Linked DNA regions of Homo sapiens: all the other regions are linked to region 3. Evidence: promoter capture Hi-C in 16 types of primary human blood cells and fetal thymus (Javierre and others, 2016). All regions are on one chromosome and are shown on one strand. The core of a region is centred on a gene start or on the middle of the fragment in contact, and the rest is flanking DNA. Distances in the headings are between cores, read along the strand shown.

Region 1 (2,782 bases), core at 229-2,728, 2.4 Mb before region 3:
TCTACTAAAAATATAAAAATTAGCCGGGCGTGGTGGCGCATGCCTGTAATCCCAGCTACTTGGCAGGCTGAGGCAGGAGAATCACTTGAACCCGGGAGGCAGAGGTTGCAGTGAGCTGAGATTGCGCCATTGCACTCCAGCCTGGGCAACAGAGCAAGACTCTGTCAAAAAAAAAAAAAAAAAGTCTCTTCCTTCTGTTTCATTGAAGCTAAAGTTCAGTTCCTGCTGGACTCCTTCCCTATAGCGATAGTTATTACTGAATAAAATCTATCCTTCTGGCTTTAGCTAGTGTCCAGCTTAGTTCGTCTTTGACAGTCAGATTGTTGCTTGCATTCAGCTTTTCCTGTTCTCCGTAGCCCTTGACTTGGTCTCATTCCTTATCACATTTTCGTACTGAAAATTGGAAGAGCAATGGTCAGACTCTCCTGAGAAAGGATGAACCTGGTTCACTCTGAAGCACAATAGAGGGTGTGTGTTAGCATCTGGCTAGGTTGTAGTCATTAGCATATTATCTGATTTTTTTTTTCTGAATGGTTGACTCAATGTTGGGTAAGACTTAATAAAAATTCATTTTATCTGCTCTCCTTTTTCTCTCTTTCCCTCAATCTTTACAGTTTTCCCCCCTTAACCTTGCATCAGGGTGTTCCCAGGATATTGTGTCGGGGGTCTTAACTTACATTTGATGTATGAAATGAAATGCATTTTCCCAACATAGCTATGCTTAAGTAGAGCAAACTTCTGTGTTTTAACCCTCCCCTTTTTATGCCAGTTGAGTAGGGAGGAAGGAACATCCAGAGTAGAAGCCTCTGGGACATTGCTCCCTTGAGATTCAGGGTGAAGACTAATATCATTAGTCAAGGCCAGATGTGACTGGGTTTCTTGCCAAGAGATTGGTGAGAGCTTATCTGGGGATGGAATGACTTGACTGGACGTCTTGCCAACCCTGGAGTAACCCTTGTTGGCGGGGGGGAGATCCAGTGTTAGAACCAACGAGCTGGAGGTTGTGGGTGAGCACGGAGTCACACCATCTGCAATTCAAGTCAGTGACTGTGGATCTCCCAGACTCCCCTGCCCATCCGAAAGTGCCCATGAGCTGTGGTTATCAAGGACAAACTACCAGATGGGTGACTGTGCCAGCAGGACCAGCAAAATGGAAGCTGAGGAGCTGAGGAGCCTAACACCAACCACAAAACCCAAACTTCCCAGAGAGATGAAATTATTCACCCAGAAACCACACAGGAGATGCTGCAGGACACTTTGAAATGTACTTAGTGAATACCCGGGAAATTTCACCTATGCTGCAGGCACTGTGTTAAATGCTTTGTGTACGTGATCTCATCTGATTCTCTCAATATCCTAAGTGGGTAAGTTCCATTACTACCCCATTATAAAGAAAATGGAGCTGAGAAAAGGTACGTAATTTATCTAAGGGTGTACTCTTTTTTTTTTTTTTTTTTTTTTTTGAGTCAGGGTCTCGCTCTGTCACCCAGGCTGGAGTGCAGTGGCACGATCTCGGCTCACTACAACCTCCACCTTCTGGGTTGAAGTGTTTCTCCTGTCTCAGCCTCCCGAATAGCTGGGACTACAGGTGTGTGTCATCACACCTGGCTAATTTTTGTATCTTTAGTAGAGCTGGGGTTTCATTATGTTGGCCAGGTTGGTCTCATCTCAAATGCCTAGCCTCAAGCATCTGCCCACCTCGGCCTCCCAAAGTGCTGGGATTACAGGCATGAACCACTGCACCCAGCCAGGGTGTACTCTTAGCAAGTGGCAGAGCAAGGACTGGAATGCATGATGTAATCCCTTGCTACTTCTCTGGTTTTATATCCTTACCAGGCCATCTCTTGGTGACCCCATTGAACTTCTGGCTCTTCCTCTCAAAGCCAAGCATGCTCTCCACTAGTCCTGAGTGTGCTCTTTCCTCTGCTGGGCTCCCCTTCCCTCTGATAACTGAGTGGGTTTCTCCTTCCCTTCAACCAGGTCTCTGTTCAAATATCCCTTTTCAGTGAGGTCTTTAGCTCTCCTATCTAGAATGGCATCCTTAACCCTTATTGATCTTTATCTCCAACAGCCTGCCTCATTTTTCCTTTTAGTTTAGCAGCTGTTTATTTCAGCCTGGACCTCTTTTTTTTTTTTTTTTTTTTTTTTTCTTTTAGAGATAAGGTCTCACTCTGTTGCCCAGGCTGTGGCTCAATCGTGGCTCACTGCAGCCTTGGATTCCTGGGCTCAAGTGATTCTCCTGCCTCAGCCTCCCAAGTAGCTGGAACTACATCTGCATGCCACTACACCCAGCTTATTATTTTATTTTTTGTAGAGATGGGGGTCTCACTATGCTGCCCAGTCTTGTCTTAAACTCCTGGCCTCAAGCAGTCTTTCTGCCTCAGCCTCCGAAAGTGCTGGGATTATAAGCATGAGCCCTCACGCCTAGTCCATGGACCTCTCTTCTGAACTCCAAGCTGTGATAACCAATTTCCAACTTGACATACCACTTGGCTGTCTATAAACTTCCTCGAGTTTACCATAAACTTACAAAAATGAGCCCTGATCTTCCTCCCGCCTTCCTTCAATCTGTTATTCTTGCAGTCTTCTTTATTTCAATGAATGGCACCTCTAGTCTTCCAATCCCTCAGAGCGAAAGTTTAGGGTCACCTTTCACTTCTCTCCTTTTCTCATTCCTCCTGCCCAATCTGTCAGGAAATCCTGTTCTCTACCCTCAACTTAGATCCCGGCTGCAAACACTTCACACTGCCTCCATGGGGTTCCCCCGGCCTCATCACCATCA
Region 2 (2,711 bases), core at 88-2,587, 2.0 Mb after region 3:
CTACTCGGGAGGCTGAGGCAGAAGAATCGCTGGAAACCGAGAGGCGGAGGTTGCAGCGAGCCAAGATCCGGCCATTGCACTTCAGCCTGGGTGGGCAACAGAGGGAGATTCCGTCTCAAAAAAAAAAAACAAAAAACGAAACTAGTTACCCAGCTTTGATCATGCAAAGACAACACCGTAAGATAACAGAGCAATGAGATGGAGGACTGAGCTCCTGAATACTTCATAGCCTGTGATCCTTGAACCAGTCCTCTCCAGACTGTGAGAAATAAACTTATTTTACCAACCGTTGCTGCTGTTGTTATTATAGCTACTTAGTCTATGTATTCTAGCACATTTCCCCCTCAAATATTAAATAAGTGATAACATTTGGGACAAATTAAATTTATTTATAAGAGTTTCTGAGTTGAGCAGAACATAATTCTTTTTTTTTTTCTTTTGAGACAGAGTCTGTCACCCAGGCTGGAGTGCAGTGGCACCATCACGGCTCACCTCCCCAGGCTCAGGTGATCTTCCTACCTTAGCCTCCAAAGTAGCTGGGACTACAGGTGTGCACCCCCACTCCCAGCTAATATTTTGTGTGTTTTTAGTAGAGATGGGTTTTCGCCATGTTGCCCCAGCTGGTCTCAAACTCCTGAGTACAAGCAATCCTCCTGCCCCAGCCTCCAAAAGTGCTGAGATTACAGGCGTGAGCCACCACACCTGGCCCATAATTCTTTTTTCTGAGAAGTTAGGGAATTGCCAAAGTCTTAATTGCAAGATTCCAAATGTTAAAGGGCTTCAAAATATGAAGTTTTAACATCGAAATAATGGTGTTATTTCAACTAATGACTTTCTCCCTCACCAACCCACATTCCCCTTCAGCTGCTACATTTGATGGTGTTGACCACCTTTTCATTTTGTTACTCTCCTTCACCTTTTGTAAGGTGAGATATCTTGTGTAGTCAAGCTATTTAAATATCTTGTCTTGATTATATCTCCTTTGCTGATTCCTTTTCTCCCCCACTCCCCATCTCCTAAATGTGGGGGTGCCCCAGGTCTCAAGTTTTAACTTTATTTAGCCCTGTTCTCTTTTTCAAGCTTTAATGTCTTATCTCTAGTCCATGCAGGACATTTCCATCTAAAACACATTTCTAAAAGTAAACTCATTTTTCCCTTAAAACCATCCCCCTCAAGCACTCTAACATCAAGCATTGGGTTTAAATAGTAGATACTCAAAAAACACAACATTTGCTGAATGATTTAATGATGTATCATTTATTATGGTAGATAGCTCTTGTTTTTGCTTAATCGTTATCCATTCTCTGTGGAATAGATGAGAAACAATAAGGAGTTATAGTCAAGGTGATAAAAACCAACTTTTTGCAAATGAAATAATTTAGTTAAATGCTCAGGAAAATCAGGAAAAAACTGGTGTGATGGGACTACATTTCCAATTTATATTTTGGAGGAATGATCATTCAGAAAAATAATCTTATCTGTAAATTTACAACAGAATGAAATGATAGGAGAGAATGTATGCTATAGCTTTTGTGTTTCATTTGCAAGCTATCACAAGGAGGAACTGGCTGGTAGTAGTAAAAGATTTTACCTAGTAAGCTTATGATTCTATACGCATTGCCCACCTTCTCTGGTAACTTGGAATATCAACCTTAGCAAAGTCCTTCACAAGCCTTCCAAGTCTTCAATACTATACATTCCTGCATAGCAGAAAATAACATTGCATGAGTTAGTTTACCTTTTCCTTGCTAGAGCAAAAGGATCAAAAGAATTACAGAGGGGAGACTTCATCTCCCAAAATGGGAAGCAAATACTTCTTACTGCAGGAGAGTGTTTGAAGATCAAGGCTTGAAAGAAAAGAAGACCACTTTTCTTAGTTTTTAAAGTAATTTTTAAAATTTCACTCTGGCTTAATGGTCATCAAGATCAATTCAAAAAATTACAAAAGAAAAAAAAAAAGGAAAGAAGGAAGGAAGTACAAGGAAGGGTAAAGGGGCCAGGACCCTGGTGCCATCTATTAGCCAAGTGAGCTAACCTAGAGAAGGACCTTGCAAGGGGCTTGGCTGCAAATGCTCAGATATCTGTCTTTTCTAGCTCACCATCCAGCCTCCGCATGAGGGAGCATCTCTTGTTGGCCATGCTACTTAACTGTACCAGCACTTCGTAGCTTGACTGCTCTGTAGTACCAAAGTTGGTATATGCCATGAGATCCTTACTCAATCCTAGTAGAGAAAAAAGAGCCCCCATCTGCACTTTAGACAGATGAACTGAATAAGTTTCAAACCCCAGAGCTAGGACTGCAGTCCTGAGACCCTATAACCTGTATGACTAGAGAAGTGAAACTATGATTTAGTTTCTTATTAGAGCTTCGACTTCCGTATATTCCTATGCCTAAGCTGGATGAACTAATAAACCTCACAGTAGACTGAGGCTCTTACACAAGTAGCTATAGCTAGTCATAGTCCATTATCTCTGCAAATAAAACCTCCACGTACTTCCAACCATTTACCTCTCCTTCCACCACTACCTCTTGATTCCACCCTGACAGAAGCAAACTTGCAAAGTCCCATTGCAAGGTATTTACTTTAGCTCCCCAAATAGGATTGTAAACTCTTTGTAGGCTTGTAGAATTTAAGATTCTTTTTTTCTTTTTCAAGTGTCTAATAGTATATTTGCTTTTGCATATTCAGATTAAAAATTCAATGAATATT
Region 3 (2,700 bases), core at 187-2,686:
TTCAGCAATCTTCATTCGTCCTGTTAGTTTCTTAGCACAAAGATTAATTCCAAATTTCCTCCACTCCACCTCAAATCCACGATCCTTCTTAATACTTAATTCCTTCTTAATATTTTATTTTCTATATTACCTTTGTCTTCCACTGTGGCATTATTCCCAGTAAAGACAAACATCTGTGTACCTTCACCTCCTATTGGAAAAATCATTCCTGTCTCTAGCATGACTGATAGATTAATTACCTCAATTCTCTTTTATCTTCCGTATCTTCCTACGAGTCAACTTGGTCTTAAGTTCCCTTTTACTCAAGCTCCTGTCTCCTCTAAACTGCTCTTCTTAAGACTACCATAATCGACGTGTGAATATATTAGTGTAATCGTGTTTGTAACTTGGTAAAAAAACAAAACACTATTTAGCAAACTGAAGTAACAGAATTTTGTTCATTTTTCTACGGGACATTTTAAATGACCTATTTCTTTAAAGTTTTGTCTGTATTACAGGGCCTTAATGTCTAGTTTCACAACTATATTAACCAAGCCTGAAGCAGGCTACAGTTAGGCAATATTTTCCAATATAAAGACCTCTGATTAAATTCTTACTGTGAATCTTCGGAATTTGGCATGAAACAGAACAAGCATGATTGCACCTGTTCTTCCCTATTGTAAACCATCTTCGGTGTCAACATATACAATAAGTTTTGTGGTATTTCCACCTGGTTTTCTATTTTCAAAGTACCCTTGTATGACACAGGTATAAAAATATTTTGATTCTAATCTGCCATTTTCCTTACTCTCACACTTTTTTGGACGGCTTATAATTTTCGATATGGTACAAAGCTCACTAACTGGTTCTTTGCTAGAGGCCTGCTACTGATACTGATGGTCGCTAAATGCTAGGTACGCCGCCAGTATTGCTCTTACTTCAATACCGACATCGCAGGATAAAGGCAGTCACATTTAGGCGCGCAAGCGCAATTCTTGATTAATGAGCCAAGGCAGACTTCTCAATCCGAGTTTTGAGTTTTCCTTACTTTTCCCCCAAATGCTCTTTTCCTCGGATTTCACATCGATAGCACTTATTCGAGTTTTCACGAGTAACCTGACGCAGGCGGAACCGACGAAGACTAGCCGGCAAGAATCCTACAGTCGCAGCCATCTGCGCAGCGTCCGCCGGGGACGCTCCGCGCGGAAGACCGCCTGTGACTCGACACACTCTCCAGTGACGCGGCCGTCGCCGCACCTGCGCGGCGGGGCGGGAAGGAGACTCCCAGCGCCGGGGGGAAGGGAGTCTACGACTCGGGAGGGAGGTGGGGGAGCAGGGAGGGAGAGAGGGAACAAGGGAGAAGGAGAGAGGCGGACAGGCGGAGGGGCGGAGGGGCAGAGGGGCGGAGGGGCGGTCCTTCCGGAGGTTCTTAGGTCCTTCACTTCCTGTTTGCCGGCACTTCAAAATCCGGGTCAAAGGGTGTCGCTTCGGTCTCTTCTCCCCGGCTGATCCCAGCACTCTCCGTGACAGCGCCTCCTGACTCAGCCCAGGACCGGCTTCTTCTCACGACCTGCTGGAGACTGGACGCCCACACCTGACCCGGAACTCGGAGGCGTGCTTCCTCCACCCGCCGGCTAGCAGCCCCGGGCCCTGAGCTCCCGCCGACGCCGCTGGGGGGCCCGACAGGCCCCTCGGCGCTGATGCTGAGTGGGATCGAGGGCCCGGGGCGGCGGCGGAGTACGGGCCTCTGGCGCCTTAGGCCAGCCGCAGGTGTCGGTTCTTAGGCTCTCCAGGCTCGCTAGCTCCCGCCCCGGCTTGGATGGGTCTCCCTGCGCCATAAATGTGGCTGCTGAGGCGGCGGTGGCCGTGGCCCGTCGCGCTGCTGCTGCGGCGCTCCAAGTTCATCTCCGCCCCGGGGCTCTCCTGCCCCACCTCGGGGCTGCCGCCACCCGCTCCTTATCCCCTGGCCCTGGCCTTGCAGCGTGGCGACAATGGACAAGATCCTGGAGGGCCTTGTGAGTTCCTCGCATCCCCTGCCCCTCAAGCGGGTGATTGTGCGGAAGGTGGTGGAATCGGCGGAGCACTGGCTAGACGAGGCGCAGTGCGAGGCCATGTTTGACCTGACGACCCGGCTCATCCTGGAGGGCCAGGACCCTTTCCAGCGGCAGGTGGGGCACCAGGTGCTGGAGGCCTACGCACGATACCACCGGCCAGAGTTCGAGTCCTTCTTCAACAAGACCTTCGTGTTGGGCCTCCTTCATCAGGGCTACCACTCTCTGGACAGGAAGGATGTAGCCATCCTGGACTACATTCACAACGGCCTGAAGCTGATTATGAGCTGTCCGTCGGTGCTGGATCTCTTTAGCCTCCTGCAGGTAGAGGTGTTACGGATGGTGTGTGAGAGGCCGGAGCCGCAGCTCTGTGCCCGACTGAGCGACCTTCTGACCGACTTTGTGCAATGCATCCCCAAGGGGAAATTGTCCATCACGTTCTGTCAACAGCTGGTTCGAACGATAGGCCATTTCCAGTGCGTGTCCACCCAGGAAAGAGAGCTGCGGGAATATGTCTCCCAGGTGACAAAAGTGAGTAACTTGCTGCAGAACATCTGGAAGGCCGAGCCTGCCACACTACTGCCTTCCCTGCAAGAAGTTTTTGCAAGCATCTCTTCCACAGGTAAGGGTCATTATCTTTCAGAATATCTCATAAAAAATCAGTATATGT
Region 4 (2,700 bases), core at 128-2,627, 2.0 Mb before region 3:
AATATCCAAAAATATTTAAGGAAAGTCAATTTAGGCTGGGTGTGGTGACTCAAGTCTGTAATATCAGTTTTGGGAGGTGGAAGCGGGAGGATTGCTTGAGGTCAGGAGTTCAAGACCAGCCTTAGGCGACATAGGGAGACCCTGTCTCTACAAAAAGAAGACAAAGAAAAATTTAGCTAGGCATGGTGGCACAAGTGCCTGTAGTCCCAACTGCTTGGGAGGCTGAAGCAGGAGGATCACTTGAGCACAGGAGTTCGAGGCTGTGGTGAGCCATGACCAATCACGCCACTGTACTCCAGCCTGGATGATACAGCGAGACCCTGTCTCGAAAAAATAAAGTAGGGTATTCATTTATGTTTATATGGTTGCCATCTCTGTGTTAGGCCCTGCGCTGACGCTCAGAGGAATGGCAGGGCTCCTCCCATCAAGTTTAGAATCTAGTTTTAGCGACAGATGTAATCATCTAGGTGAATTGTGAAGGTGGAGTGTGGTCATTTTTAAAACACACATATAAGAATTCAGTGAGAGCAGTAATTCCACATAGAAATGAAAACATTTAGGGATGATTGAACCAGGTCGATTCTGCATCACAGTTAGCCCAGATAGCCTTACAAAGGAGTAGGCTTGCAGAGCTGTTCAAGAAAGATGTCCTGCTTATGACTATATTCTCAGCGTCTGCTGCAGTGTCTGGCCCATAGAAGGCATCAGTAAATGTGTTGAATAATAAATAGTAATGAAGAGCTGCAGTTTTTGACCACTTAATGTACATGCAGGCACTATTTGTTCTAAGCACTTTATTAACTACATAGACTGTCTTAATTAATTCTCAGGATGATTTTATGAGGTCATTACACAAATGAAGAAACAAAAAGTTAAGAGTGGAGTAACTTGCCCGAGGCCATGCAGGTAGCAAGTATAAGAGTGGGGGTTGTAATCCTGGAAGTCTGACTCTAGGGTATGATTTTAAGGGCTATACTACCACATTGGTAGTCTTTTTGTCTCAGATATTCATCATCTTGTTCATTAACTTGACTCTGATTTGAACTTCACTTCTTTTTCCTCTGCTTAATTTCTTTGTTCATTTCAGCTCTCAAGCCTTCACTTCATTTTTTGCTTTCGTAAGTTTTCTTAGCATTGGTGGTGGGGCGCGTTGCTTCTCTGAGGCCAGGTACTTGCTGTACGGGCAAGGTATATGAACTTTAAGAGCCCAGCAACCCCTGCAGCTTCTGCTACAAGTACTGCAGATGGAAATGGAAGGTTTTGGAAACGTTTTTTTAGAGAGTATGCATGAAACTAATAATATTCACTTCTTTGCTCTTTGTTCTCTTACTAACTTCTTAAATTTCAGAACAATAGGATACCTTGCTAAAAATATCCTTTTTTCTTTTTTGCTCCTTTGAATTATCAAGTGACTTCTTTTTATTTCAGTCTTTGATACAATTTTGACATTTAATTTGGGCTTCTTTCCTTTTATCATAAACTCTTCCAAACAACTTTATGTCATAAAATGTTTTGGGAGGCTAGATATGGAAAGTCAGCTTGGAAAAACTCATTTGAGACTTGAGCCAAAACCCACAGAAAACTCTCACCACAATACATCTGTTTCCTTTTTCTTCTTATTTTTTCACATAGTTGTTCATTTTTTTTTGTTCTAAATCATTACTTTTCATTGAGTACATTTTAAAAACTATCTGCTTTTCTTTTTCTGCTCTTTGAAAGATCATCTTGTCCTTTTTCGCCAAAAAGCTGGAATGAGGGAGGTTGAACTAAAAGCCAAGACATTCAGAGCACTGTGCACTGACTGAGCCGGACAGCTGTTAGACACAAGCATCTGTAAATTGTACTGTGTTAAAATTACCACAAAAGAGGGGAGAGAATCCAGGCCCTCTTCCTGCCCTTTCTATTTGGTTGTTTAGAAGGATGTTTTCATAAATACTTTCCCTTTTATGATGAGGCCCATTCCCACAGGGCTGGTAAACAGCAATCTAGGACAATTGAGGGAGACAGCGGTAGCACTGCAAACACAGGTGTCAGAGTTTTAATCCCAGCTCTGTGCCTAATTTGCTATTTAGGTCAAGACTGCAGCATGACTAATCACTCATTTTGTCATGCTTTCCTATTGGTACTAATTCCTAAATATCCACTGAGCCATAATCACACAGAGCCAGTCACAAGACTACAGCATTAATGTATTTCCATTGACTAGTTCTCTCACCACATAGTAAGGACACTGGAAAGGAACAGGGGACAGAAAATAGCATTTACTATTTCCCATAAGCCAGGTCCTGTGCTGGTTTTCATGTTTGTTATCTACACTGAATTAGTAGAGCAGTACCTTCTGTAAAGTTTCTCTTCTGTAAAATGAAGGTGTTGAAATTGATGATGTTTAAAGACCTCTCAAACTTACATTCTGTGGACTTAGTGATTCTGTTAATGAGGTCATGTACAATTTTGTATTTCCATTTCTGTTACTGTTGCTGCTAGGCTTGACTCTATTGGAGTCTACAAACGAATCTGGATAAGGTACTTGGAAATTCTGGTTGAGGAAGCTAGCTATGCAATACCCTTGACACAAGAACAGGTTTCCTCTCTCTTTGAAAAAGTTTTCCTCCTTGAGCTTATTAAGAATAAGATTGTGAATGGTTCATGCCTGTAATTCCAGCACTTTGGGAGGCCAAGGCGGCAGATCACTCGAGGCCA
Region 5 (2,700 bases), core at 44-2,543, 2.0 Mb before region 3:
TTAGTGTATTAACATTTACCAAACATTCTGCTGAACTGACATAGTCAAATTTTTCTGTGACATTTCTGCTCATTTATCATTACCATTTCATTTTTACAATGTACAGATAGTGGAAGTGTTAATAGATAAGGTTCTTTCCTCAAAGTTATCCCTACCCCGCCCCCACCACCCCAACCCACATTGTTATATTCCAAGGAAGAACTATCAGTATTTCCTGTGAGTATAATTTGTGAGACATTTAGAACTCAAAACCTCTTTTTACCTGAACCATCCTTCCAATTTATTCACAGATAATCTGAAATTTTGCCATTAGTTCTTCATTCCTTTTTGTTAAGTTTATGTTACCATCTTGAGGGTGCTTTGAAATGGCAGTTCCCAACTTGGTGTTCTTTAAAATATGTATGGTGTGAATCGTTTCATAAAAGAAAGTGTTTCTCAGCCAAGCCAATCTGGAAAATGCTGTAAACTACAGCCCCTATTTGGAGCTAGAAAACCACATTATCACTTTAAATGAAGAGAAGTTCAACAGCTGGTATTATTTTGGTTAACAAGCTGTTTCCAAATTTTTGACCAGAGGTCAGTAAACTTTCTCTGTAAAGAACTGGGTAAGAAAATGTTTTAGGCTCTGTGGGTCATCTAGGGTCTCTGTTGGAACTAATCTAATTCGCCATTGTAGCTTGAAAGTGGCTTTGGACAACATGTAATCAGTGAATGTGGCTGTGTTCCAACAAAACTTAGTTTGTAGACACTGAAATTTGACATTAATATAATTTTCACATCATGAAATATTATTCTCCTTTTGCTTTTCCCCAAACAATTTAAAATCTAAAAACTCTCAGCCATATGAGTTTTGTACATAGCTCACAATCTCTACCAAAACAAGCAGCAGACAAGATTTGGGCTGTGGGCTAGAGTTTGCTGACCCCTAATTGTTGTTGTTGTTGTTTTTTGTTTTTGTTGTTTTTTGTTTTTTGTTTTTTTAATAGGGCCTTGCTGTGTCACCCTGGCTGGAGTGCAGTGGCGCAATCATGGCTAACTGCAGCCTCCACCTTCTGGGCCCAAGTGATCCTCCCACCACAGCCTCCCAAGTAGCTGGGACTACAGCTGTATGTGACCACACCTGGCTAATTTTTGTATTTTTTGTAAACGCAGGGTTTCGTCATGTTTGCCCAGGCTGATCTCCAACTTACGGGTTCAAGTGATCCACCCACCTTGGCCTCCCAAAGTGTTGGGATTACAGGTGTGAGCCACTGCGCCCAGCCTGTCTTTCTTCTTTCTAATTTGTTCAAGTAATATTTCAGCCATTGTCAAATGCCAGTCCTTACTGGTGTGTTTTTTTTTCAAACTCCCTACTTTTGTCTGTTACAATTCGCAACAATTGTGATAATTTTGCAAGAATCCTTGATTCCCAAAGGTTCTACAGCTGTGATTCTAGAAGCTCTGCCCCAGGTCATCAGCAGTGGGGTCACCTGGCACCTGGTAAGAAATGCAAATTGTCAGGCCCCACCCCAGAACTACTGAGCTGGTTCAGCAATCTGTGTTTTCACAAGTCCTCCAGGGTATTCTGATGCATGCTAAAACTTGAAAAATCACTATTACATAGCTCCAATCAAAATTTTAACATACCATAAGATAAGGAAAGGAAAGAAAATGGAAGTTATCACAGATTATCTGGCTAAGGCAAATCAACTGTTACAAGAATAAGTATGGAAAGGAAGTCTGTAGGAAGGAAGTGACTGAAGGAATTAGAAATCTGCATTACTGGGGAAATGCTGGTTGGCAGGCTGATAAATCTTATCCCAAGCATCATTATTGTATATTTGTATAAATCTAAATGTATGTAACTTTGTATAAAGTGTCTTTGCAAAGTATCATTGTGAAACTTTACAGATAATCTAAAAGTATGTCAACTCATAGAAAAACATAAAATAACAAAATTAATTAATTTATCAATGATATGGTTTGGATCTCTATCCTTGCCCAAATCTTATGTCAAATAGTAATCCCCAGTGTTGGAGGTGGGGCCTGGTGGAAGATGATTGGATCATGGGCGTGACTTCTAATGGTTTAGCACCGTCCCCTCTTTGGTACTATAGAGTGAGTGAGTTCTCACAAGAGCTGGTTGTTTAAAAGTGTGTGGCACCTCCCCCTCCCACTTCTTCCTGCTCTAGCTAAGTAAGACATATCTGTTGCCATTTCACCTTCTGCCGTGATTGAAAGTTTCTTGAAGCCTCCCCAGGAGCTGAGCAGATGCCAGCATCATGCTTCCTCTACAATCTGTGGAACTGTAAGCCAATTAAGCCTCTTTTCTTTATAAATTACCCAGTCTCAGGTATTTCTTTATATCAATGAGAGAGTGGCCTAATACAGAAAATTAGTACTGAGGAGTAAGGCATTGCTATAAGGATACCTGAAAATATGGAAGCAACTTTGAAATTGAGTAATGAGCAGAGGTTGGAAGAGTTTGGAGGGCTCAGAAGATGATAGGAAGGTGAGGGAAAATTTGGGACACCCTAGAAACTGGTTAAATGGTTGTGACCGAAGCGCTGATAGTGATATAGACATTAAAGTCCTGGATAATGAGGTCTTAGATGAAGATGAGGAACTTATTGAGAACTCAAGTAAAGATCACTTTTGCTATGCTTTAGCAAAAACCCCTGTTTTGACTGTACCCCTGCCCTAGGGATCTGTGGAACTTTG

The links. The method cuts DNA at HindIII sites, captures the fragments that hold promoters and counts their contacts. A CHiCAGO score of 5 or more calls a contact.
Region 1: a contact is called between a fragment that was not itself captured here and the fragment with the promoter of USP38 in region 3, in 1 of 17 cell types (monocytes). The highest score is 6.2, in monocytes.
Region 2: a fragment that was not itself captured here is called in contact with the fragment with the promoter of USP38 in region 3 in 4 of 17 cell types (total CD4 T cells, naive CD8 T cells, total B cells and 1 more); the score reaches 11.3 in total CD4 T cells.
Region 4: a contact is called between a fragment that was not itself captured here and the fragment with the promoter of USP38 in region 3, in 1 of 17 cell types (monocytes). The highest score is 6.7, in monocytes.
Region 5: a contact is called between a fragment that was not itself captured here and the fragment with the promoter of USP38 in region 3, in 1 of 17 cell types (monocytes). The highest score is 9.4, in monocytes.

What each region holds. Positions count from the first base shown.
Region 1 is chr4:140,797,125-140,799,906 of GRCh38, forward strand. No RefSeq gene overlaps it. Among named protein-coding and RNA genes, the nearest start is that of TBC1D9, 42 kb to the left of the region's middle. The HindIII fragment of the contact is 6,894 bases long and covers 1-2,782 here.
Region 2 is chr4:145,184,556-145,187,266 of GRCh38, forward strand. LOC124900794 (a long non-coding RNA gene) reads left to right here. Exons shown (of 2, transcript XR_007058294.1): 2 at 1-287. Among named protein-coding and RNA genes, the nearest start is that of OTUD4, 5.3 kb to the left of the region's middle. The HindIII fragment of the contact is 519 bases long and covers 1,079-1,597 here.
Region 3 is chr4:143,183,481-143,186,180 of GRCh38, forward strand. It overlaps USP38 (ubiquitin specific peptidase 38), which reads left to right and starts at 1,437. Exons shown (of 10, transcript NM_032557.6): 1 at 1,437-2,652. The coding sequence starts at 1,971. It overlaps USP38-DT (USP38 divergent transcript), which reads right to left and starts at 1,381. Exons shown (of 4, transcript NR_185979.1): 1 at 1,028-1,381. RefSeq lists enhancers at 487-1,372, 1,373-2,257 and silencers at 1,309-1,358, 1,579-1,828. The HindIII fragment of the contact is 4,447 bases long and covers 1-2,700 here.
Region 4 is chr4:141,138,892-141,141,591 of GRCh38, forward strand. It overlaps a transcript of RNF150 not described here. Among named protein-coding and RNA genes, the nearest start is that of RNF150, 6.8 kb to the left of the region's middle. The HindIII fragment of the contact is 6,967 bases long and covers 1-2,700 here.
Region 5 is chr4:141,158,582-141,161,281 of GRCh38, forward strand. It overlaps a transcript of RNF150 not described here. Among named protein-coding and RNA genes, the nearest start is that of RNF150, 26 kb to the left of the region's middle. The HindIII fragment of the contact is 7,432 bases long and covers 1-2,700 here.